4 separate regions of the Homo sapiens genome follow, and regions 1, 2 and 3 are each linked to region 4. The links are contacts of gene promoters, found by promoter capture Hi-C in blood cells and fetal thymus (Javierre and others, 2016). All regions are on one chromosome and are shown on one strand. Each heading gives the region's core, a stretch centred on a gene start or on the middle of the fragment in contact. The rest is flanking DNA. Distances are from core to core; before and after follow the strand shown. Region 1 overlaps ENPEP (glutamyl aminopeptidase). Region 2 overlaps HADH (hydroxyacyl-CoA dehydrogenase). Region 3 overlaps HADH (hydroxyacyl-CoA dehydrogenase). Region 4 holds the start of SEC24B (SEC24 homolog B, COPII component).

Evidence for each region. The method cuts DNA at HindIII sites, captures the fragments that hold promoters and counts their contacts. A CHiCAGO score of 5 or more calls a contact.
Region 1: a contact is called between a fragment that was not itself captured here and the fragment with the promoter of SEC24B in region 4, in 1 of 17 cell types (monocytes). The highest score is 7.9, in monocytes.
Region 2: a fragment that was not itself captured here is called in contact with the fragment with the promoter of SEC24B in region 4 in 1 of 17 cell types (fetal thymus); the score reaches 5.4 in fetal thymus.
Region 3: a fragment that was not itself captured here is called in contact with the fragment with the promoter of SEC24B in region 4 in 1 of 17 cell types (fetal thymus); the score reaches 6.8 in fetal thymus.

Annotation. Positions count from the first base shown.
Region 1 is chr4:110,494,492-110,500,201 of GRCh38, reverse strand. All of the region lies in intron 3 of ENPEP (glutamyl aminopeptidase), which reads right to left. Among named protein-coding and RNA genes, the nearest start is that of ENPEP, 21 kb to the right of the region's middle. The HindIII fragment of the contact is 8,500 bases long and covers 1-5,710 here.
Region 2 is chr4:107,998,543-108,003,694 of GRCh38, reverse strand. All of the region lies in intron 1 of HADH (hydroxyacyl-CoA dehydrogenase), which reads right to left. Among named protein-coding and RNA genes, the nearest start is that of HADH, 11 kb to the right of the region's middle. The HindIII fragment of the contact is 2,945 bases long and covers 787-3,731 here.
Region 3 is chr4:108,017,344-108,023,122 of GRCh38, reverse strand. HADH (hydroxyacyl-CoA dehydrogenase) reads right to left here. Exons shown (of 8, transcript NM_005327.7): 4 at 3,457-3,583. Among named protein-coding and RNA genes, the nearest start is that of HADH, 30 kb to the right of the region's middle. The HindIII fragment of the contact is 222 bases long and covers 4,090-4,311 here.
Region 4 is chr4:109,431,295-109,437,092 of GRCh38, reverse strand. SEC24B (SEC24 homolog B, COPII component) reads right to left here and starts at 3,278. Exons shown (of 24, transcript NM_006323.5): 1 at 3,091-3,278. The coding sequence starts at 3,223. SEC24B-AS1 (SEC24B antisense RNA 1) reads left to right here and starts at 3,276. Exons shown (of 3, transcript NR_039978.1): 1 at 3,276-3,359; 2 at 5,347-5,401. RefSeq lists enhancers at 2,299-2,448, 2,525-3,384 and silencers at 2,266-2,560, 2,939-3,208, 3,259-3,648. The HindIII fragment of the contact is 940 bases long and covers 2,431-3,370 here.

The DNA of each region.
Region 1 (5,710 bases), core at 1,913-4,412, 1.1 Mb before region 4:
GAACTTAAGTCCATGAGAATCGATTCCTGGTTGATTACCATTACTTCCTTTACGTGTCCCTTTGCCACACTTGACTTCACTTGACAATCATGACTAGATGCATTAGATCAATCTTCCTTGAACAATTTAATGAGGCTGTGCACCATCTTTATCTTCAATGATTATTTATGTCCCTGCAACCAAAACCAAGCACAAAGCTCAGCGATAGTATTATGATTACTTATTAGTCTTATTATTGAGAACTTAAATTTTTTCAAGGAATGTGATAAGCATTTTCCATGCAACATTTCTTTTACTCCACACGTCAATTCTATGAATCCAGAATTATTAATAATAATAGAAAAAATATTTTGCATCACTGATAATTACCCCAATCCGTTCACTGGTCCAGTTCCCACAACCCCTAATCCACACTAATAAATCCAATGAGTTCTAAAACTTTTTATATGTTTAAGCAAACTAATTTGGCAATATCATATGACCTGAACTGTTAAGAGTTTTTCAAAAATCTTTATTTTTCTCACTATAAAAAATTGCTGCAGAAGTATCACTGATTATAAGACATTGCCCCAAATCCCACTGTAGTTAATCATTAACATATAGTATTCAAACTACATTACCTTTCACAAATCTGAAAATTTCTGAATTCCAACATACAACTGGCCATGAGGGTTTGGGACAAGGATTGTAGACCTCTATTTATAATTTTAGAGTTTGAAGGTGATTTGAAAATAAACTTCCTCATTGTATACATGAGAAAAATGAAGTCTAAGACAGGACCGACGCTAGAGTTCAGGACAAAGTTTGTTTTCACATATCATGCTGCCTATTTTCTCTACTTATAAGACTGAATCTTGACCTCCCCAGCTGTAAAATAGATATAACAACAGCACTTATGTCATAGGGTTATTTCGAGTATTAAATAACACATAAGCAATGTTTGACATGTAATAGTTCTATGTGTCCCATCAAAAGTGTTAGTATCATTAGAGATAATACACTGAATTATTAACCTCTGTAATTTTCTGTGTGCGTACTTCCTTATATGTGATTGATACTTACACTATGGTGTCCACATTGCCAGTAAGAACATTGAAAAATGCAGGGGAAAAAAATAAATGTTATGGTTTTGACTTTCAAAATAGGCTCTTGATGCCCACACAACACATTTAAAAGCCCAAACTTTTTGGATTGTAAGGGCCTGGTTTCAAAAGACTTTTAGCAATAAAAACAGAAGGCCAGGAAAAAAGCAAACCACAGGGTTTTTAACTCTAATAATAATTGAAAAGAGAATAAAGAGATGTCCAGGCTACTCTGTCTCAAAAAACTAGACAAAATTTACCTGGGCCAGGGAAGGTGAGGGAAGGTTGAAGGGACAAGACCTGAAACAGACCCTGAAAGAGTGTGAGGGGACTGAGATGAGAACCTTGAACTTGGAAAGACCATGGAACAGAAAAGAATCAGCTTAAACAGACTGCCCGTTACCACTGCCACCGTCACCTGGGTCAGAAGCCAGGCAGGGCCCTGCATGATTCCACCTGGAAAGTGCCGCAGCCCCGCTGTGCCCTGGATCCACATCCTTATTGTCCTTGTCTATTGAGTGTTTTCTATTGATAGAGGTGACCATACATTCAGGTTTGCCCAGGAATGTCCCTGGAATGTAAATCTGTTGCTTACCTGTTTATACGTCTTGTTCCAGCTTAATTAATAACACCTCCTCTATTATTTATTATATATATATTTATAGATGATAAATTATATGGTCACTCTACTTATTGACAGCAGCCTGACTTTTCACTGCTGATCATCCCGCAGAAGTAGCACCATTTACCTCTTGAGGTTTTTTTTGCAAGGTCTCATCTGAGCTGTTCCAAAGAGCCACATCATTTTAAATGACGAGCATGCTTAAAGGATCCCCCAAAAACAAGCTGAGATCCTTGGCACTCAGGGCTAGTAACACCAAGAAAGACCTGAAAACACACTTGGGTGGCACAGGGCAGTGGTGACTGTATCTGGTGCACATCTTAATTGAAGTACAGATATCAGCATATTTCACTCTCTTCAGGGTTTAGCATCCTCCAGTGCACATAGTAGATGCTCAATAAAAATGTACACAATAATCAGTTTGAAGAAACTGTTTCATTATCAATACTGAGGTAGCCAGGATGAGAAAGAGAAAATAAATCTATATTGTTTTTAAATATATAAATGCATATTTAAGGTACATAGCTGGTATTACTGAACATGCCATTAATGTGTTAAATTTTATAAAGTTTATGTTCTTTTAAATATTCTTCCAGTAGTAGGTGGAAAGTTAGCAGAGGAGGGTACTTAGTTGAAAGGAATAGTGATACATCAGTTTTTTTCTTTTTAAGTTCTGCCTTATCAATGTGATATATTCTTTCTAAATTTTAGTTTGCTCCTTCCTCATAGATAAATTAGTATGAATATGCAAAACCTTGGTTTGAAGTTTAGGTGAAAAAACACCTTTTTTTCCGCTGTAGCTATGCTGGTTCAAAACATGTTCGGACTCTGAGTCGGAACTCACCTGCTATGAATTGCTGTTTAAGAAGAAACTCAGCACGGCCATTAGGTTACACAAAGCATTTATTGGCCACTTACTTTCCATTTAAGTTAAAATTTAAGTTGTCTGATGCTTAGTGATTATTACTGCAGTATAATTTTTAAGAAATTAAAAAATGAACATTAAAAAATCTAAATTACCCCATAAAATCTTACATTATTTTTATTATTTTGTTTATATTTTTGTAAATTTAAATAAAAAATAAGAATCATTAGCAATCCTCCGTGGCTTACTAAATTAAACAGTTTCCTTCAAGGGAGATTAATAACCTTCCATTTAAAGATAACCCTTCCAGTAAAGAAATTAATTAAAAAAAACTAATTAAAATGTTCTAGAAATCAAATTCATTCTGAAAACTTAGCAAAGCCACAGCCAAAATAAGTTTTTAAAATAATGAAATGACCATATGTCAAAAATAATTCTGAGGAAAACAGAAAAATCACCTTTAGAACACCACAATAACAGTTGTTGTGGACATCCACTGGGGAATGCTACAATAAGTGGTCAAAACCTGAAGAACTAACAGGATATTCACATAGCCTTTAATTATCACTCCCTAAATATTTATTAATCACTGTGGTGGTCATAATGTATATCCATAAATTCTTTGTGACTCCTCCCTCCAGGAAGTAGAGCTTAACTCTCTTCCCCTTGGGTGTGGACTGCATTTAGCGATTGCTTCTAAAAAACAGAAGATTGGAATAAAAAACTAGTAAACTGAAGCAGAGAAACCTAGCAGACACCATCTCAACCAAGTGATCAAAGTTAGCATCACCAGGAATAAGTCATGAGGATGTCATGTACCCCCTGATAGGATGTGATGAAAAGGACCCTTCACCTCTGTGGTATTCTCCAAAATCCAAAGCCTCAGTCTAATCTTGAGGAAACATCACACAAACCCAAACTGAGAAACTTTCTACGAAATACCTGAACAGTACTCTTAAAAAGTGTCAGGATCATAAAAAAGAAAAAAACTGAGAAATGTCATATATCAGAATGAATTAAGGAGACAGCATTGCTAAGTATAATGTAGATGTATCATCTATTGGATTTTGGAATAGAAAAGGCACATTAGTGAAAAAACTGGTGAAATCCAAGTAAAGACTGTTGTTTAGTTAATAGTATTGTATTACATTGATTTCTTAGATTTGACGAATGTTTGATAAATGGTTATATAAGATATTAACATTAAGGGAAGGTTACATGGAGACTCTTGTGTCTTTGCAACTCTCTGTAAATCTAAAATTATTTCAAAATAAGAAGTTTAAAAATATATCTCTGAGCATTAAAGCAATGAAACTTAAAAAATAAGATTATTTCTATGAAGAGAAATACATAAATCAAAGTCTATGGCACAAAACCTAAAACTGTTATAAAGATAGGCTGTTTTTAAAAATCCATGGCATATATACATACATACTCTGCCTTCAGCCTATCTTTCTAATCCAGGCAAACAACGGACTAAGATGGAAGCAAGTAAGAAGACACAGACAGTAGGAAGAACCCATTCACAGAGAGAATCCTAGATGCAATTATTCAGCGATCATCCTGTAAGATTTTTGGAAGAAAGTACAACATAATCCCTTCTACTGATATATTAGAATTAATATGGTCATAGTACAAACCTAATTAAATGGATAATATCTTCCACCAGCATTCCCTTAGTGAATAATTCCTCCCAGCTTCCCCCTCTGTTCAGGAAAGCCAAGGAAAACTTGACTAGAGTTGAAATAATCTCCAACAAGGTAATTTCTTGTTTTTGCACATACTTCTTTATAAAATACAGATGCCAAATGCCCCCAAAGAAATTCAAGGGCTCCTGAGATTTTTGTTTCTCAGGAACGAAATCACTCGTGCCATTTATTATTTATTTACTTATTTATTTATGTATACTTTTGAGACCGAGTCTTGCTCTGTCACCCAGGCTGGAGTGCAGTGGCACCATCTCGGCTCACCGCAACCTCTGCCTCCTGGGTTCAAGCGATTCTCCTGCCTGAGCCTCCCGAGTAGCTGGGATTACAGGCACACACCATCACGCCCGGCTGATTTTTGTATTTTTAGTAGAGACAGGGTTTCACCATTTTGGCCAGGCTGTTCTCAAACTCCTGACCTCAAGTAATCTGCACACCTCAGCCTCCCAAAGTGCTGGGATTATAGGCATGAGCCACCGCGCCCGGCCACCATTGCCATTTAACTCGTCCTGAATTTGATTCCTTAAAGAATCATGCAGAGCGAAAGCATTCTGGGAAAGTTACTGTAGGTCAACTGTACCTCAGAAAGCAACACAAACCTAACAACTTCAAATGATTTTATATATACTAATACGGGGGATTTTCCTTTTTCCTACTTTGCGTTTTCCAAATTTTCAATAATGTACATGAATTAAACCTATAATTTTAAAAACTCAAAAATATATTTATAATGTACATTGTTCTTGGTTTGAAAATGAATTGCAATAAATTCCAATGGGGAACTTTGTGCTGAACTCTCATGTTCATGACATGCTTATTGGGGATATTGTTTCCTCTCTGATGACTCCTGCAGGAACAATAGGATTACATTTTTTTTAAACAATAACTCAACAGTTTGTTCACATAACTAAAAAGTCATATAATCTCTCTATACTATGCACAGTTCAGGGTGTGTCCACTTGTTTGTTTTTCTGGGGTGAAATTCAGTGATTTCATTTACTTTAAAACCCTAATCAATCAACTAAACCTGAAGAAGACCTCAGGAGTAGATTTCTTGCAGAATTGTAAAAAATTCCTTCCATCAGTGGCTGGCTTCAATTGTTGCTAAACTATTCTAAGTAACTCTTCATGTTACTCTGTTTAGCATTGAATCAAAATGCAATGCAATTAATTTAAAAAGAAAATATGAAGAGTGAAAAGACTTCTGAGCTACCTCCAAAACCAATTTAATTTTTCTCATGAGCGACAAGGATATTTTAAACATAATGAATGGCTCAACTCTAAAGTCTGCTGTACTCTCTCCAACTAAACTATTAAGAATGCAGGCATTGATTCTGTGTTTATTGATATAAAGGAACTATTGTCAGAGAGGTGAATATACCCAAGCAAGTTGAATCAGGGCATTATAGATTCTTAGATTGCATAGTATAATCTG
Region 2 (5,152 bases), core at 1,010-3,509, 1.4 Mb after region 4:
CATGACTTGTTTTTCAGTTTTCATTTTCAAGTTTTCCCTTCTGTGTCCTTCTATTTTTTTACAAACGGGCTGGGATCCTGCTCCATATAAAAAGGGAGGAAGAAAAGGATCCTCCTTAATCACCTGAGGCTGGCCTTTGCTTTACCACCAAAGTCTTTAAATTACTTGGTGGCATGGTGATATGTGGAGAAACAAGCCTATAGTTGGAGTTCCTGGGTTTAAAACCTGGCTATGATTTGAATGTGTCCTCTTCAAAAGTCAGGCACTGCCAATATGATAGTATTGAGAGGTGCGGCCTTTAAGAGGAGATTAGGCCATGAGGGCTCCTCCCTCATGAATGGGATTAAAGGTTTTTATAAAAGGACTTGACGGAGAAAGTTCGTCTAGCTTTCTTCCACCTTCTGCCATGTGCAGACAGCCTTCTTCCCCCAGCAAGACACAACGAGTAGGTCTGCACCAGACACCAAAGCTGGTACCTTGATCTTGGACTTCCCAGCCTCCAGAACTATGAGAAAATAAATTTCTGTTCTTTATAAATTACCCAGTCTCAGGTATTCTGTTAATAGCAGCAAAAAAAAAAAAAAAAAAAGACTAAGACACTGATTTAGCCACTCACTCACTGTGTGACTTTGGGTGAGCTACGAAGCCTCTATGTCTTGGTTTCCTGATCTGTCATAAAGGTTAGTAACAAAGGTACCCACCTCATAAAACTGTTGTGAGGATTAAAGAAGTTAATGTGTTTAACATGCTTAGACCAGTGCCAGGCATGTGAAGGTGCACAAAGCTTGTTAGCTGCTATTTTATTCACTACACTTGGTGCTTCTACTTTCTCCTGAGCCATTAAATTCCTAAACTCTAGTAATATGGCTTATTTCAGTCTGTTAGTGCTGCTATAACAAAATACCAAAGACTGGGTAATGTATAAACAACAGAGATCAAGATCATCAGCATGTTCAGTGTCTGGTGAGGGCTGTTCTCTGCTTCCAAGATGGTGCCTTGCTGCTGCATGCTCTGGAGCAAAGGTCCCCAACCTTTTTTGGCACCAGGAAGACATGGGAGACAATTTCACGGAAGACAATTTTTCTACCGTCTTGCAGGGAAGAGGGGATGGTTTAGGGATGATTCAAGTGCATTACATTGATTGTGCACTTTATTTCTATTATTATTACATTGTAATATATAATGAAATAATTATACATCTCACCACAATACAGAATTAGTGGGAGCTCTGAGCTTGTTCTGCTGCATCTAGATGGTGCCATGTGGGGATAATGGGAGACAGTGACAGATCATCAGGCATTAGATTCTCACAAGGACACGAAACCTAGATCCCTCACATGCACAGTTCACAATAGGATTCATGCTCCTATGAGAATCTAATGCAACTCTTGATCCAACAGGAGGCAGAGCTCAGGTAGCAATGCAAGTGATGGGGAGCAGCTGTAAATACAAATGAAGTCTTGCTAGCTGCTCACATCCTTCTATGTGGCCCGGTTCCTAATGGGCCACGGACCAGAAGTTGGGGACCCCTGCTCTGGAGGGGACGAGCACTGTGTCCTCATATGGCAGAAGGGAGAAGAGGCAAAGTTGGTCTCTCAAGCCCCTTTAAATGGCACTAAGCTGTTCATGAATACAGAACCCTCATGACCTAATCACCTCCTAAAGGCCTTATCTCTTAATACTGCTGCACTGGGGATTCAGCTTCGACATAAATTTTGGAGGGAACACAAACATTCCTATCAGAGTAGCTTCTTCCACCACCACTGCTGCATGAAATTAGATACAGTTGGTCCCCCCTTTATCTGTGGTTTTACTTTCTGTAGTTTCAGTTACCAACAGTCAACTATGGTCCAAAAATATTAAATGGGAAATTATAGAAATAAATGATGCATGTTTTAAATTGCATGTCATTCTGAGTAGTGTGATGCAATCTTGAATTGTCCTGTCTGGGAGGAGACTCATCCCTTGGTCCAGCATATCCACACTGTATACTACCCAATCCATTAGTCACTTGGTAGTTGACTGGGTTATCAGATCAAAAAGACATAGTATGTATAGGATTTGGTACTATCTGCAGTTTCACGCATCCACTGAGGGTCTAGGAATGTACTCCCTCCCCTCGTAAGGGGGGACTACTGTAACTTATCAATGGTCTACTAAATTGCTAAAGTCAATGCCTGTTCTTTGGCTTCATCTTCTACAACAGCTCTGTACATTGCCAATAAAAGTTTCATTTTTGAAACTCTTCAGTTTCTTATCTGTCTGTTCCTTTTAGCCATATTAATTGACCTCTCTTGATCTTCTAAGCCTATAAACAAGGACTTCCTTCAAGGTTCTGTTTCCAATATAATTTCCTTCTGAAATTCCAATCGTTCTCATACTTCCAACTGTGCCTGAAACCAAAATAATCTATCTAAGCTGCAGTTATCACCTTGACCCTAAAATCAATTCTCCTTGGCCTTCATTACTGGTACCACTATTCTGTAGGTCACCATTTTCTGGACAACACTTTTTCCTTAATCCCAACCATTAACTGCTGTCCAGAAATGTTCTATCCATTATTCAGGCCCATTTCAAATGCTACCCTCTCCATGAAGCCTTTTTCCAAATGAATGTACTTTCTATTTTGAAACCTCAGAACTAGATTTTTACTGCTCTTATTGTACTACTTTACACCAAAGTAAACTGTGTCATTTAGATCTCTGTCTAATCTCTGCTCTTAGATTTAAAATCCCTTAATGGCAGAAATTGATTTGGTCTTTGTAGCCCTTAGTACTTATCACATGCCTTGAATATGATAGCTGGTCAATAACTGCTAAATAACAAATGCTTTGGACGGTAGTAACCCGATTCTGTAGTCTTCCCCAGCCACACCACACGTCTCCCTCCTCTGTGCTATCTCATGGCTCTGTGCCCTTGTTCATGTGGTTTCCTCTGCCATACATGTCCGGCTCCCTCATTGCTGCTTCATGGACTTCAACTTACCCTTCATAATCTAACATGGACACCATCTCTCCTTTAGTGAAACTTCTCCCAACCCTTAGTAGAGGTAATCACTTCTTTTGTGCCTCTAGTGATTTGCAGATACAGCAGATCTTTTGTGCAGGAATTCAAATACTGAAAGAAAATAACTGGGTGTGGCGCTGGTGTGAACCACCAATGGCTGCTCAGTTATGTAATGGCAGCCCAGTCCCCAGGATGTGAACAGAACAGAGAAATAAAAACTTAACTGGTTATAGACTATTTCATGTCATAAGAATCTCACCGATTTCAGAATAAAAGTTATTAACCAACCAGAGCATAGGAGAAATCCCAGATGTGAAAGATGAATGATACACTTGAAATAGAAAAGCTAACCATACCAACCTTTTCTTCTTTAAAAAACTGATATGTAATAGCTGTACATACTTTTGGGGTACATGTGACATTTTGATACCTGCCTAAAATGTGTAATGATCAAATCAGGGTAACTGGGATATCCAACACCCTAAACACTTATCTTCTCTTTGCCAACACCAACTTTAGATGATGAAATCAAGATAGTACGGAGAGACCTTTCAAAAGTGCTGTTGCATCATCCACTTCAGGTTGTCAAGCTGCTGTTACCACAAATCCCAATATAGGGTGCTTAGGAACACTCCTATCTACAGGCCAATGAGAATTTCCAGTAAATACAAATTTCACAAACATACAGGCAGTACAATGTATACATATATCTTTTAACATAAGCTTTTTTAATGTCCCTTTTTCCTTAGCATAAGATATATATACACACTATATGTCATATCACATCTTAAGTATTTAAAAACCATACTTTAAGGTAAGGTATGTAAACTATTATAACTTTCATCTGTTTCAGATCAAATCCCAGATATGACAGGTAGGCTGTCTGTGCCTTCATTACAATTAGTTGTTCATACCTGTATTTCTTCCACTAGACAGTAGGTTTCTCAAGAGCAGCAATCACATCTTACTTTTTACCTGGCCTGATGTCTAGCACAAGGGAGATATTTCATACTCATGAAATGAACACTTGAATGACAGAGCTATTTTTTCATAAGTCTCAATTTGTAAATTATTTTAGAAATAAGTTCTCAAGAAGTCATGACTGGTTTTGTTGCTAGAAACCTTTATGATAAACTTTGTGTAAGCATCAAGTTACTTTAAAATTATGAGAAGTCACGTTATTAGTTTGAAAAGGATAGTAAGGAAAAAAAAGGAGCTAATAGCCAGAGTCTAGTCAATTACCAAGTGGAAAAAATGCCACTAAAGTCTCTCTCTGTTATTTTGGTGAGCAGATTAACTGCTTTCTAGTACTGGTGGTTGTGACGCTAGGTAAAAGGGGAAATGTAGGGCAGTTGCTATGCGTTGCCCAATGCAAGATCAATATTCTTTAAGTGGTATCCAGCCCTGTGATTTCAAAATGGATGTGTGCTTAATTCACTCCAACATGTGAATGTGTCTTATACCTTTCATCCAAGAGGCTGTAAGGCTAGAGGCATGCCAACCCTGTGTCTGTGCCTGTCTGTGAGGGGCACATGTGTGAATCAGGTCAGAGATGGCCACAGACACATAAGCTCACTGCTCTCCAACACAGGTTTCTTCTCTATCACAGAAGGGAAACTAACACACCTAGCTTCTCAACTACTTTAAGAGATTGGCGAAAGCATTTATTGTTCAGGCTTATTAGCTACAGATAATCAGGATCATCAATTTTGAGAGGAGGAAGACAACCCAGAGATCATTCAGTGTGGCGGCTCTCAAATGTTTTAGCCATGAACACCTTTTTCCATAAGAATGCATATTGAAGACCAATATGTACAACAAAGGTCAGAGAAGGAATCTTTACCAACCTTTCGGGAACCATGAAGGAGATTCATGAAATCTCTAATGTCCATCACAGTATAATGTTAAAAACCTCTGATCTCATACCCATTAGGATGGCTATTACTAAGAAAAAAAAACAAAAAAACAAAAAGAACACAACTATTGCCTCATGCATGACAGTCTTAACACCACCACAAGGCCAGTAGCTCCCTACATCTGCCTCTCAACTCCAGCCCTTCTCTTGGCCTCACCTTCTCCCCAACTTCACCTATTAACTAAGCCTAAAAATCAGCCGGGCGCGGTAGCTCACACTTGCAATCCCAGG
Region 3 (5,779 bases), core at 2,951-5,450, 1.4 Mb after region 4:
ACTTGGGAGGCCCAGGCAGAAGAATTGCTTGAACCTGGGAGGTGGAGGTTGCAGTGAGCCGAGATCATGCCACTGCACTCCAGCCTGGGTGACAGAGCAAGACACCGTCTCAAAAAAAAAAAAAAAAAGACAACAGTGTACTGTAGAATGTACAAAATCACGGCTTAAAATACAAGTGTATGTGTGTACGTGTGTGTATAGGACAGTTTTACAGGCTTTGTTGTTGAGACAAGCCTGGGTTCAGTTGCACCACTTACTGGCTGTGTGACCCTGAGTATGTTTCTTGAAACTGAAATGACACTGAAATCACTCTGTTCACCTCAGGAAGTTGAGGTGAGAATGAAATTACATTGGGAGTAAAGCACAAAGCCTAAGCACAAATGCTCAATAAATGCTGACTTCCATTATTTAATTATTAGAAGTCTGGAAGTATATGATGGTTGCCCTTAAAGTCTTCTACGTGGGACCTGATCTTCTATTATAGAGGAGGAGGAGCCCCAGGAAAGTGAGTAATTTGCCCAAGTGACAGTTCTCCTGGATTCCTGAGTATTTCTCCCATGACTCCACCCTCTGCCACACAGATGCTCTAGAGGCCAGCGGCCCCTTGGCTTCAGAACAGACTCATCCTTCTGGGGAAGGCTTTCATTTACAGCAAGCGGGGCCTGCCACCTGCTCCAGCAGCCCTCCTGACCTCTGTGAGGTACAGGCAAGGGCACAAGGGCTGCCCTACTGGCATCTGTAGGGGATGGCACCAAGCACGATGCCCGGCACAGTCAGCCCTCAGTAAGCAGTTAGAGAACTCATGTGTAATGGTAAATGGAAAGAACCAGATGAAGTATATATATATATATTTTTAAACAGGAGAGATGCGTGTTTATTCACTCATTCATTCAACTATACACACACACACACACACACACATACACACACACATACACACACACACACACACACATATATATATGTAAAATGTAAAGGCCAGTAAAGAACTTCAATCGGAGTCAAAGGGTTTACTTTAGACCCTTCATGGGATCTTAGGCAACTGCCTCACCTCTCTTCTCTGGAATGGGGATCATGGGCATGTCTTCCCTGTGCAAGAGGGCCGTCTGACTCGGTGAACTAATGAGCTAGTGTCTGTGCAGGGATGAAAGGTGCTATATAAACAAAGAAGAGTTCTCACTCCTGTTTTCGTGTGATCACAGCCTGGGCCATGGTGTCATGTCGTGACATCAAGAGAAGTGAATGGATGGAAACAGGAAAAGACACAGTGAAGATGGAGAAGAGGAGCAGGACGAGAAAGACCAGAAGCCACCCTGCGGGTACCACAAATCAAACAGAATCCCAGAGCTGTTTGAAAGGAGGTCTAAAAAGTCTCCATCAAAACCACAGACTGAGCTGGGGGACAAACACTGCTGACTATGGAGTTTTCAAATTAAGTTTTTGGTTTAAGGGAGTTAATAATAGTGAAGGTTTGTTTCTTTTTAAACAGGAGAGATGGATGTTTATTCACTCATTCATTCATTCAACGAACAGTAATTTGTACAGATACGCTGCTCCTAGTTCCAACAGAGTCTGAAAAAAAATACATATATATATACATTTAAATGAGCCCAGTCCTAAGTAAAGGAGCCACTTAGCTTATTATACAAGTTATTTTGGTGTACACCACCAGCAACACAAGGAAGAGCTAAAGTTAAACAATAAAAACTGAATAGAGAAGAACACTTTTACAAAATACTTTCTAAAAAATAGTAGCATTTGCTAAACATCAGCTGTTAACAACCAACACACTACATTTCCAAAGACAAAAGCATACATTACCAGATAAATGCAGTTGAAAACATTATTAAAGTAAATCTACAGAATGTGCCTATCTCCAAAACACTTATATATACAATATAATAACTAAAGAAATCAACTAGTCCCTAAGTACTGAAATGTTGGAAATGCATGCCACTTCTTTGCTCTTAATCTGCATGAGATAAGAGCTGTTAAATGCTGTTTCTTCTGTTCCCCAAATCCCTCCCCTTCATTCTTCAATTTCTTCAAAAAATCAGCCTTAGGGGATAGGAGAAAATAGGAGGAAGCTGAGAAGCAATGTTAGTAAGACAGAAAAAGTCCCATTGCAAGATGGTCAAAGTTGTCACTTGAGAGAAAATGCTAAAAAAAATGGTCATTATTATGACTTATTAAAAATGCTTATGCTGAGTAGTGGTGAGGGAATGAGGAGGATAAAGGAAGGAAAAGGTAGTTGGAAAAGGCAATAATGAAGAAAACAGACGATACACACTCCCAGAGAGGCCACAGCCAGTGTGTGTAGGTTTGCCTGGCCCCACATCACCCACATGGCAGCATCAGCGTCCCCCACACTTCGCAGGGCAATAACTCCTCAACCTCAGAACAAATGCTACTTTAATAGCGGCTGCTCCTCAGACCCTGTAATTAGGACCCTGTAAAAGGCAAGTTGTCCCATTTCAGGTGCAAATTGCCTACTGTGACTCCAACTCCAACATATTGGAGTCTCCAAGCATTCCAAACAGGATGCTGGGGAAGCCCTCCCTGCCTCCCCGCTCCACCTTCCAGGTTTATGGTCAGGAGGCTCAAGGCTATCAGAAGCTGGTTTTATTTTTTTACTTTTAGGGTTTTTTTATTCGATATAGGATCTTGCTCTGTCATCCAGGCTGGAGTGCAGTGGTGCAATCACAGCTCACTGCAGCCTCAACCTCCCAGGCTCAATCAATCCTCCCACTTCAGCCTTCCAAGTACTGGAGACTACATGCGTGCACCAAAACCCCTGGCTGATTTTTTATTTTTTGTAGAAATGGGGTCTTGCCATGTTGCCTAGGCTGTTCTTGAACCCCTGGGTCTCAAGCAATCCACTAACTTCCACCTCCAAAAGTTCTAGGATTACAGGCATGAGCCGCCGCACCCAATGGGAGCTGGTTTTAATAGCTCTGATCACAATGCACAGGAGATGTACCTCATCTGGGGACAACGCTAAGGCACCATTACATGGGGTCAGAATTAACCCCAGGAACTGTGGACAAGCTAGTATAGTGTATCTAATGAGAACTGCATTTACAGCATGGGCAAGCTGACCTCGACGAGATAATATGAACACATGTAGCTGCCCTCTGTGTGGTCCCATCCAGCCCACGGTTTCTAGTGCTGCCTTCCCATTCTGATGCCTCTCAGCACTGCCCATCAGCTCTGGCACAAATAAGTAAATGACATTCCACAAAGTTAACAGCCTTTCTGGATATCACTAAGCAAGACACAGGGCTGTGAAGAAACAAAGCATAGAAGCCCTCCTAGATATGAGGCTCAGGGACAACCTTCTACCCTCAGGTTAAAACCCATCCTAGGCAACTGGTGGCAGGGCTGGTGTAACACAGAAAAGCAGGACTGAGAGAGCTGGCAGAGCGGGCAGACACACACAAGCTGACACCCACTGACCTCCACAAGTTTCATGACAGGCACTGGGTTGAAGAAATGGAGGCCAGCGAATCGGTCTTGTCTGGTGGTGGCATTAGCTATGCTTGTAATCTGCAAGGAGGAAGTGTTGCTGGCAAAGATTGTATGTCTGTGAAGAGAAAATATAGTGGGAGTATCAGAGTGAATCTCTTCTTTCAAAACAGCATGACTCTTGGATGCAATGCACAAGGTGACTGCTTACTGCCACATCTGTTGTCCTGACCCATTGGGGGAATGAGGGAGAAGACACATCTTCATATAAGAGGCTGAAATCAAGTGACTTCAGCTTTTTAAAAATTTTTAAATTTGAAATAAAATTGGAATTTCCTGTTCCGAAGAGGTATTTAACCTTCACCAATCCTTCCTTGATTTTCCAGAACAAAATTTCCCCTACCTACTTGTATTAGTTAACTTCCAAGGTATGTGAGATAACAAGAGGTGGCTAATTGATCAAGCTACTTAACCAACCCCAGTCACAAACGAAACTCAGTGATCAAAAAATAATGAAAGAAAGACACCTAAAAGCAACAAAATTCTAAATGAACACATAAATCCTCAATCAGAAACATATGATAATAAACGTGAATTAAGATATTTTCCCTGAAGTGAAAAGCTTTATTTTTCAATTGAATGGGAATTAAAATGAAAACAAGAACACCAACATGGTTCAAAAAAATTTTAAGGTTACATGGGTAGATATGGGGAAAAGAGGATATAGGCATATGCATATATAAGACATTAACTTATTCATTAAAAAAAATCCATACTGACTTAAACCAAATTTAGTTCTTTAAGGCCACAGTAAAGTGGCGTGCCAAAAGCATGAGAGGAAAAGCTTTAAACAGGTTGACTTCCAGGCTTTCCTGCAGCGCCACCTTGCGGATAAAAACATACAAACAGGCCTGGTGCTGATTCCAACCAAGATGGACTGTAACAGGGCAGGAAAGGAAAGGATCCCTTACTGACCAGGCTTGGGGGTTTCTGCTTACCTAACAGGCAATACTATAATCTGCTCAAATCAGGGGCGGGTGGGAGGAGAGGAGGAAGAGAAGGGAGAAGAAACCAGTTATTTGGAAAGGAGGGAAAAGAGGTAAAAGGCGAGACCAGTGTGGGTAGGCAGCGGAGAGCCTTCTCTTTCCAGGTATGAGCACATCCACCTTCTCCAACAGCTTCCAAGGTAGGCCATTTAAATGCCAGGGTTTCCTTTTTAAAAAAAAAATGACATTGTTTTAAGGTCTTAAAATTTCAGTTTTCAAAGTTTCTTGCTTTTGGTCATTGGGGAAAATAATATAAACTATTCCCCATTACAGAAGGTAATGAAAAAAAGATCCTCTTCCAATAACAATGTGTGTGGCCAACACAAGCACTGTTCAACCACACAACCTGCACCACAAGCACCTGGAACCACAAAAACAGAGCAGGGACAGCCTGGGCCCAAGGCTGTGCCAGCTGTGGCTCCACACTCCCGTTAAGAAAAGAAAGTGTTATTTTAAAGATTAGTATTACAATCGTAATACCCCTTTTTGTAGAATGTTTGAAGGGCCATTCACCTGCAAAAAGGGGAAACTTGGGCACATTTGGTAAAATAAAGTGACATCAGAGCCCAGTTCCAGGTATCACCAGTCCAGGGCACTCTGGCACATTTTATCAGAAGGAGGAAATGATCTCTCCCCAGCAGACCTCTGCTTCTGCCTCTCCCAACAGGGTCAGGCTGACTTTGTTCCTAAAAGTCTCACACTGTCTTCAGAGAATACTAAACACATAGGACAGTCTTTTCATCCACAAACAAAATGTACTCTGGGCTGGGCACGGTGGCTCACACTTGTAATACCAGCACTTTAGGAGGCCGAGGCAGGTGGATCACTTGAAGTCAGGAGTTCGAGACGAGCCTGGCCAACATGCCCCGTCTCTACTAAAAATACAAAAATTAGCTGGGCATGGTAGCGCATGCCTGTAATCCCAGCCACTAGGGAGGCTGAGGCAGGAGAATTGCTTGAACCTGGGGGGCAGAGGTTTCAGTGAGCTTAAGATCATGCCACTGCACTCCAGCCTGGGCGACAGAGCGAGACTCCGTCTCAAAAAAAAAAAAAAAGTACTCTTACATGTTCCTGGAAACACTTGTCTTGAACCATCTTTTGTTTTTTTCATTCGGACACTCAGGTACCAAAAAAACTACTTTTCTCTTAAATGTTCTAAAAGAAAATCGACAACACAAGCACAGTGATTATTAGCAATGGCCCCAGACCCTAGTATAAAGAAGACAAGAGGGTTGGTGGGGATGGCAAAGGATTCAAGAGTCTGTACT
Region 4 (5,798 bases), core at 2,029-4,528:
CCCACTTCAGATGCCTATCATAAGTATCACAAGTAGCAGGTTGCCATCTGTACTTCTGAGGAACCAGTTACAAACTGGAGTTTCTACTACCCCCTCCTTAGGTTCAATTACTTTGGTAGAAGGGCTTGTGGAAGTCAGGAAAACATTTAAATTTATTGTTTATTATAAAGGATATTACAAAGGATACAGATGAACAGCCAAATGAAAGAGATGTACAGGGCAAAGGATGGGGGCAGGTGCCGCCACCCTCCCAGCATCTCCACATGTTCAGCAACCCAGAAGGTCACCAAATCTTACTGTTCCAGAGTTTTTATAAAGCTTCATCTCCAGCCTATCCACTCCCCTTCAAAGGGGATGATGGGTGGGGACTCAAAGTCCCAACTCTCTAATTACTTGGTCTTTCTGGTTACCAGCTCCAGCCTGAGGCTGTCTAGGAGACCCATCCTAAGTCATCTCATTAGCACAAACTCAAATGTGATCAAAAGACTCCTTATGAGTAGCAAGCGACACTCCTATCACTCAGGAAATTACAAGGGTTTTAGGAGCTGTTACAGGAACCCAGGACAAAGGCCAAACGTATTTCATATCACACCACAACACTGAAGTGAGTGATTTCTAGGTACCATTCCAGTTTTACAATTCTGTCTGTTTTATGCTCATATTTCTGACCTATTTCTTTTTCACCATGTCTGGAATTCCATAGAGATATATTAAAAGGCTAACTACTTTTGTAGGACTGAAAAATAAATGAGAAACCCAAATGACTGCTTACTACATGCTGATACCACGTAGCAAACTTTTTTTTTTTGAGATTAGCAAACAAAACAAAAAGAGATTTAATCTTGTTTCTCTACTTAAACTAATCCCTTCCACAAAAACAAAAATCCTTCTGGAGGATAAGGTGTGAGGATCACCTGAGCCCAGCAGACCAGCCTGGGCAACACAGGGAGACCTCGTACTCTACCTGACCCTAGTTCTTACACTTTACCATAACTTTCAAATTTCCTAGCATAACATTTAAGGCCTTTCTGCAACCTGACCCCTTTTAACCTGCTCCTTTCGGCTTCGATGCCTTGGCTTCCCATGCCACCCAGCACCCTCTGCACCTCTTGACTCCTTCCACTTTCCAAGCATGCCCTGCACTTTCATATTTCCAAACTTTAGTTCATGCTGTAACCTCTGCCTAGAGTCAACCTTTCCCTCCCACCCCAACCTGTCGAGTCCCTCAAGGCTAGCCAGAACCAATTCAAACATTACCAAATACAGGGCAAGTCAGGAGAGAGGCAGGGACTCTGTCTCATCTGCTACCCTAACCTTGAGTCCCCAACTGGTAAGCATGCAATAAATGTTGAAATGATTATTGCAACATTAAAGGAAAGTAGTGATTATAAACAAGAGAACTCAAGCATCATCTATATTTGGCATCAAAACATTGATTTGTTCTTACAGATTTTAACATCCTGATTACACTTGGCTGAGTACATATCCTGGCATTCTTGAGTGTTCACAAAATTTATAAGGCTGTAATAAACATTTGCCACTTTAAAAACTGTTCACTAAGATGATAATGCATATTCAGAAAATCAAGGAAAGACACAATCCTTGAATCACTGGTAAACATGAGTCTACAATGTTCTAAAAGACTTGGGCTCTTTTACTAAATTATCGTGTTCTAGTTCCTTCATAAAGCTATTTTAAAAACAAACAAAAACAAGAACTTATATTAAGGTTACAAGAACAAACACTGCTCACAAATAGTATTTTTACATTTGTTCAGAACAGGTTTATATCCAAAAGCGATTATAGTAAACAATGACTACTGAGAGTACAGCATGTAATACTGATAGGTAAGGCTGATCCAAAGAATATTAAGGCTAAAGTATCACTCAACTTCTGATCCTCAGGACAAACGATACACTTCATGTTTGAAAAGCATCAGTTGTAAAACTTAGATGTTGATTAAACTAATTCATAAAGTCCAGCAGATTTTCATTAGGAAATTAGATAAAACAGGTCAATCATCTGGAGAGTACTAATGCAGTTTGGTTCTCGTACCAACACAGGACAGAGGTATTTTTCTAAATTCAGTCAATTACTTTCCAAGGTTCTCATCTGACATACTAAGAAGTCTGTAAGGAGAATTCCTCCACCCTTGGCCCCTATCCGCGAACATTCCAAATCTCAGCATTAGGGAATGCATATCCATCATTTTGCAGCCTACTAAAAGCCCACGACCTTAATATGAAAGCGGCTTTCGTGCTGCATTTGGCTGCTGCCTGTATGAAGGCCCTGCCTCAAAGCAGGGCCAACTCTGGCACGTTTTTTCATCTCTGAAAGTGGAGCTAGGAAAAACACCCAGATCTAAAGATGTTCGTTTAAATCCGTTTACATCTGCTCCCTTTCAAACACTACAAGCAAACTCCAAAAGCTTGAGCAGCAGCCGCAGCGGCAATGACAGTTCTTGAGGCCGAACTGGGTCAGGGTTACAGTTACACTTATATAGCATATTTACACCCTTTTGTCTACAAACTTGAGTGCAAACTTAAGTTTCCTCAAGGCAGCGTGTTCGCTGGGCCTCGGGAACCGAAGCAATTTTCCTGAGACAGGAAGGGCACAATCCACCCTGCTGGGTGGCTGCACCAGCCTTCTCCGGACCACGCACTCAGCGGCCTCGGCTTCTGGCCAGCTCTCGCAGCCAAGGGGTCGCTCGGGGCAACTCGCCCGCGTCCAGGCTAGGTAACTGGGTTTTACTACGTGGGCTCCCAGCTTTTCAGTCGCCCCTACTCGCCCGAGGCCGTTTCGGGCCTGGGGTCGCATTACATAAACAGCCACGGCCCCAGCTTTCCCAGGCCGGCCCCCGCCCCCACGCCAGGGGCGTCCCACCCCCGCGCGCCCCGCGCCGTGCCTTCCCTGCCCCCTACCCGCACCCAACCCGGACCCCGCGGCCTCCGCACCGCGCCCGCTCCCGTCCCTCGGGCCGGGCCTGGCCCCGAACGCCCTTCCCGGCCCGGCCCGCCCCGCCCCGATGTGGCCGTGCAGGCCGCCCAGCCGGTGCTAGGCCCCGCGCTCCGCCCGGGCCGCCCGCCTCACCGTTCTGCTGGTGCGGCGCCGGGCCCGCACCCGGGCCCGCGGGCGCTGCGGCTCCTGAGACGGCCGCTCCGCCGAACTTGGGCGGGATCCGGGCGCTGGCGGCCGGGTGAGAGGACCCGGCGGGGGCCGACATGACGGCGCTGGTGGCGACGGCGGCTCCGCTTCAGGGAGGTGGGCGGAGGGAAGGGAAGGCGGGGCCGGAGAGGAGAGAGGAAGAGGAAGGAACGCGCCTGGCGTCACTGAGGGTGTCACCCGGGACCGCGGCTCAGGTACCCAAGCTTCTCCGCGAGTCCAGCGCTGCCACTCGGCGGCCGCCGCGGGCGCGGGGATCCTGGGTCGCTCCGCCTTGACCCACGCGCCCCACGCCCCGGGACTTACACCTGGGGTCGCTCCCCGCACGCGCGGGCCTCGCGCCGGTGCCGCCGCAGCGCCCCCTGCAGGCCGGAGCCGAGCTGGCCCAGGCCTGAGTCTGGCCCGGGGTTCCGTGGCCCCAGTGCCGGCCCCGCGGCTGCTGCTCCGGCCCGGCCAGGTGCCTTCGTGTTGAGGCGAAAGGACTGGGCCTCAGTGGGTGAAGGGACCGGGTGGCCCGCTTCCACCTAGGGCAGAGGCTGGATCGGCCGCGGCGAGGCTGGGCCCAGCATTACTGGGAGGGGAACTTGAGAGCCGCGGGTTGATGTTCGGAGCTCAGGCGACGACTGACCACCCACCCTTCCTCGAAGAGGAACAATGGCTTGGGTTTGGTTTTTAATTTTTGATTCCCCCACCTCCCCTTTCTTGATTCCAAAGGAAATATAGCATTCAAGCGCCATGTCTGTTGGGAATATATAATTCCTTGGCAAAGAAAGAGGAAACATTTCTCTGATAAACACAAGAATCTCAGTAAGAATTGCATTATTGAGAACTTTTCCCACTGATAAAGTAGGGAAGAGGAAGGGGAAAATAGGGTAAGGGAATGCTGGAAGACAAACTTTAAACTTTATCTCCTTTTTTTTTTTTTTTTTTGTCGATTGTTGGTGCATCCTGTTGGTGTTCCGAGAAGTTGTGGCTCAGCTTGCTTTGTCTACATTAGTGGAATCTTTAAGTCTTTCTGGTCTGTCTCAGCATACTCACTGGCAGGCCCTAGACTACATTACCCAAGTCATTTTGCCGTCTTGGAATCCTGAGTATGTCATCACTCTGTATTGGAGATGAGATTGCTCAGAAACACTGAATTCAGAATGGGATCTAGCAAGATGGTATTTCTGGAGCAATAAGTCATTTACTGAATGATTATGCAAAGCATAAATTGCATTGTAGTCCTAGAATAATACAAAGCTTCCCTTTAGTTGTTGCCGTAAATTAATAACTGGCATTTTAATGCACTAAATGAATTTTAGTAGTTAGATTTATATCTTTGACTTCTAGGAATTTCAACTACATTAGAGTTCATATACACAAAAGGGGCAAGCCCTTTTCCACAGCATTTCCAGCTTCTCCACAGAAACCTAGCCCCACATGAGCAAAAGATCACACTCTGTGCTTCATCAAAGAGATTACACAATTACAGATTCCAGCATCTCCCAGGAGTCCTTTGAATTTGGATTAAGGTCTATAATTACGTGGGTAAGGGAATAACTAGGTAATTGGCTTTCTGCACCTGGAATGTATTCTCCTGGGTATAAGAGGCTCCTTTTAATCAGAAGTATATGGGATGAAAGTGAACCCTGTCTCTTAAGGGGAGACTCCTTAAGAGGAGGATTGGGGCCCTGTGTTTTAATAGATCTTCTCCACAATCTTTAATACCTAAGCTCCTTCCCCTTGTCCACTAATTTGCTGTAGAATTTTTCTAGCATGTTTATGATGGTGTTCAGGGCACACTACCCCAAAATATAACACCTTGGCATATTGAATGTTTTAAGCTGATGGAATTTGAGAAATGGCAGGTGTGAGGACTCTGACCTTCCCATGAAGCAGGTCATAAGACCCTCATGTGAGAGATGCCCTCTCTATACCTGGAGAAAAGAAGCAGTCTTATTTGTGAAGACAGAGAGACGCCAAGAGGAATCTAAATGAATAGGCCTTGGTAGGTTTCCCCCAGTTTACTGCCCTTAGCCCATCTTTTTGTCTTATCACAGTTTTCCATAACAGTCTACTCTTCATCAAGCTTGGTATAAAACGCTCAGGTTTCTTCAGGTCTTCGTTTCCTTATGAAGGCTCTGGTGCCATGTAAAACTTACATTAAATATCATACATTCATATGCCTTTCTTTTGTTACAGGAACCCCAGACGCACGGGCCTTGTGCTGTCGCTGCCGTGGCACCCCTTCTAGAAGGTAGATATTTTTCCTCCTGACAAACACTACAACCTTTATGAAAATATTTCACTCTTTTGCTTTAATTTCCATTACTACTATAAGTGAAAAAAGGATGAAGAATTGAATGAATAGGATTGAACCATCTACTAGGCACTGTGCTTGTAAATCTAGATATGTATTTTTTTCTATTTAATCCTAACAATAACTCCATGGGATATTTTTCTTATCCCTATTTTATCTGTGAAGAAACTAATGTTTATAGAGCTGAAGTAATCTTAGTAAAAATCATGAACCTGGAATTAGCAGAACCAGCGGTCAAACCAAGGATTATTTAGCTCCAGACCATTGCTTTACTATAAACTATACTGGGTTAATTTACATTTTTCTTCATAAAGCTATGCTAGTTATGATTTAC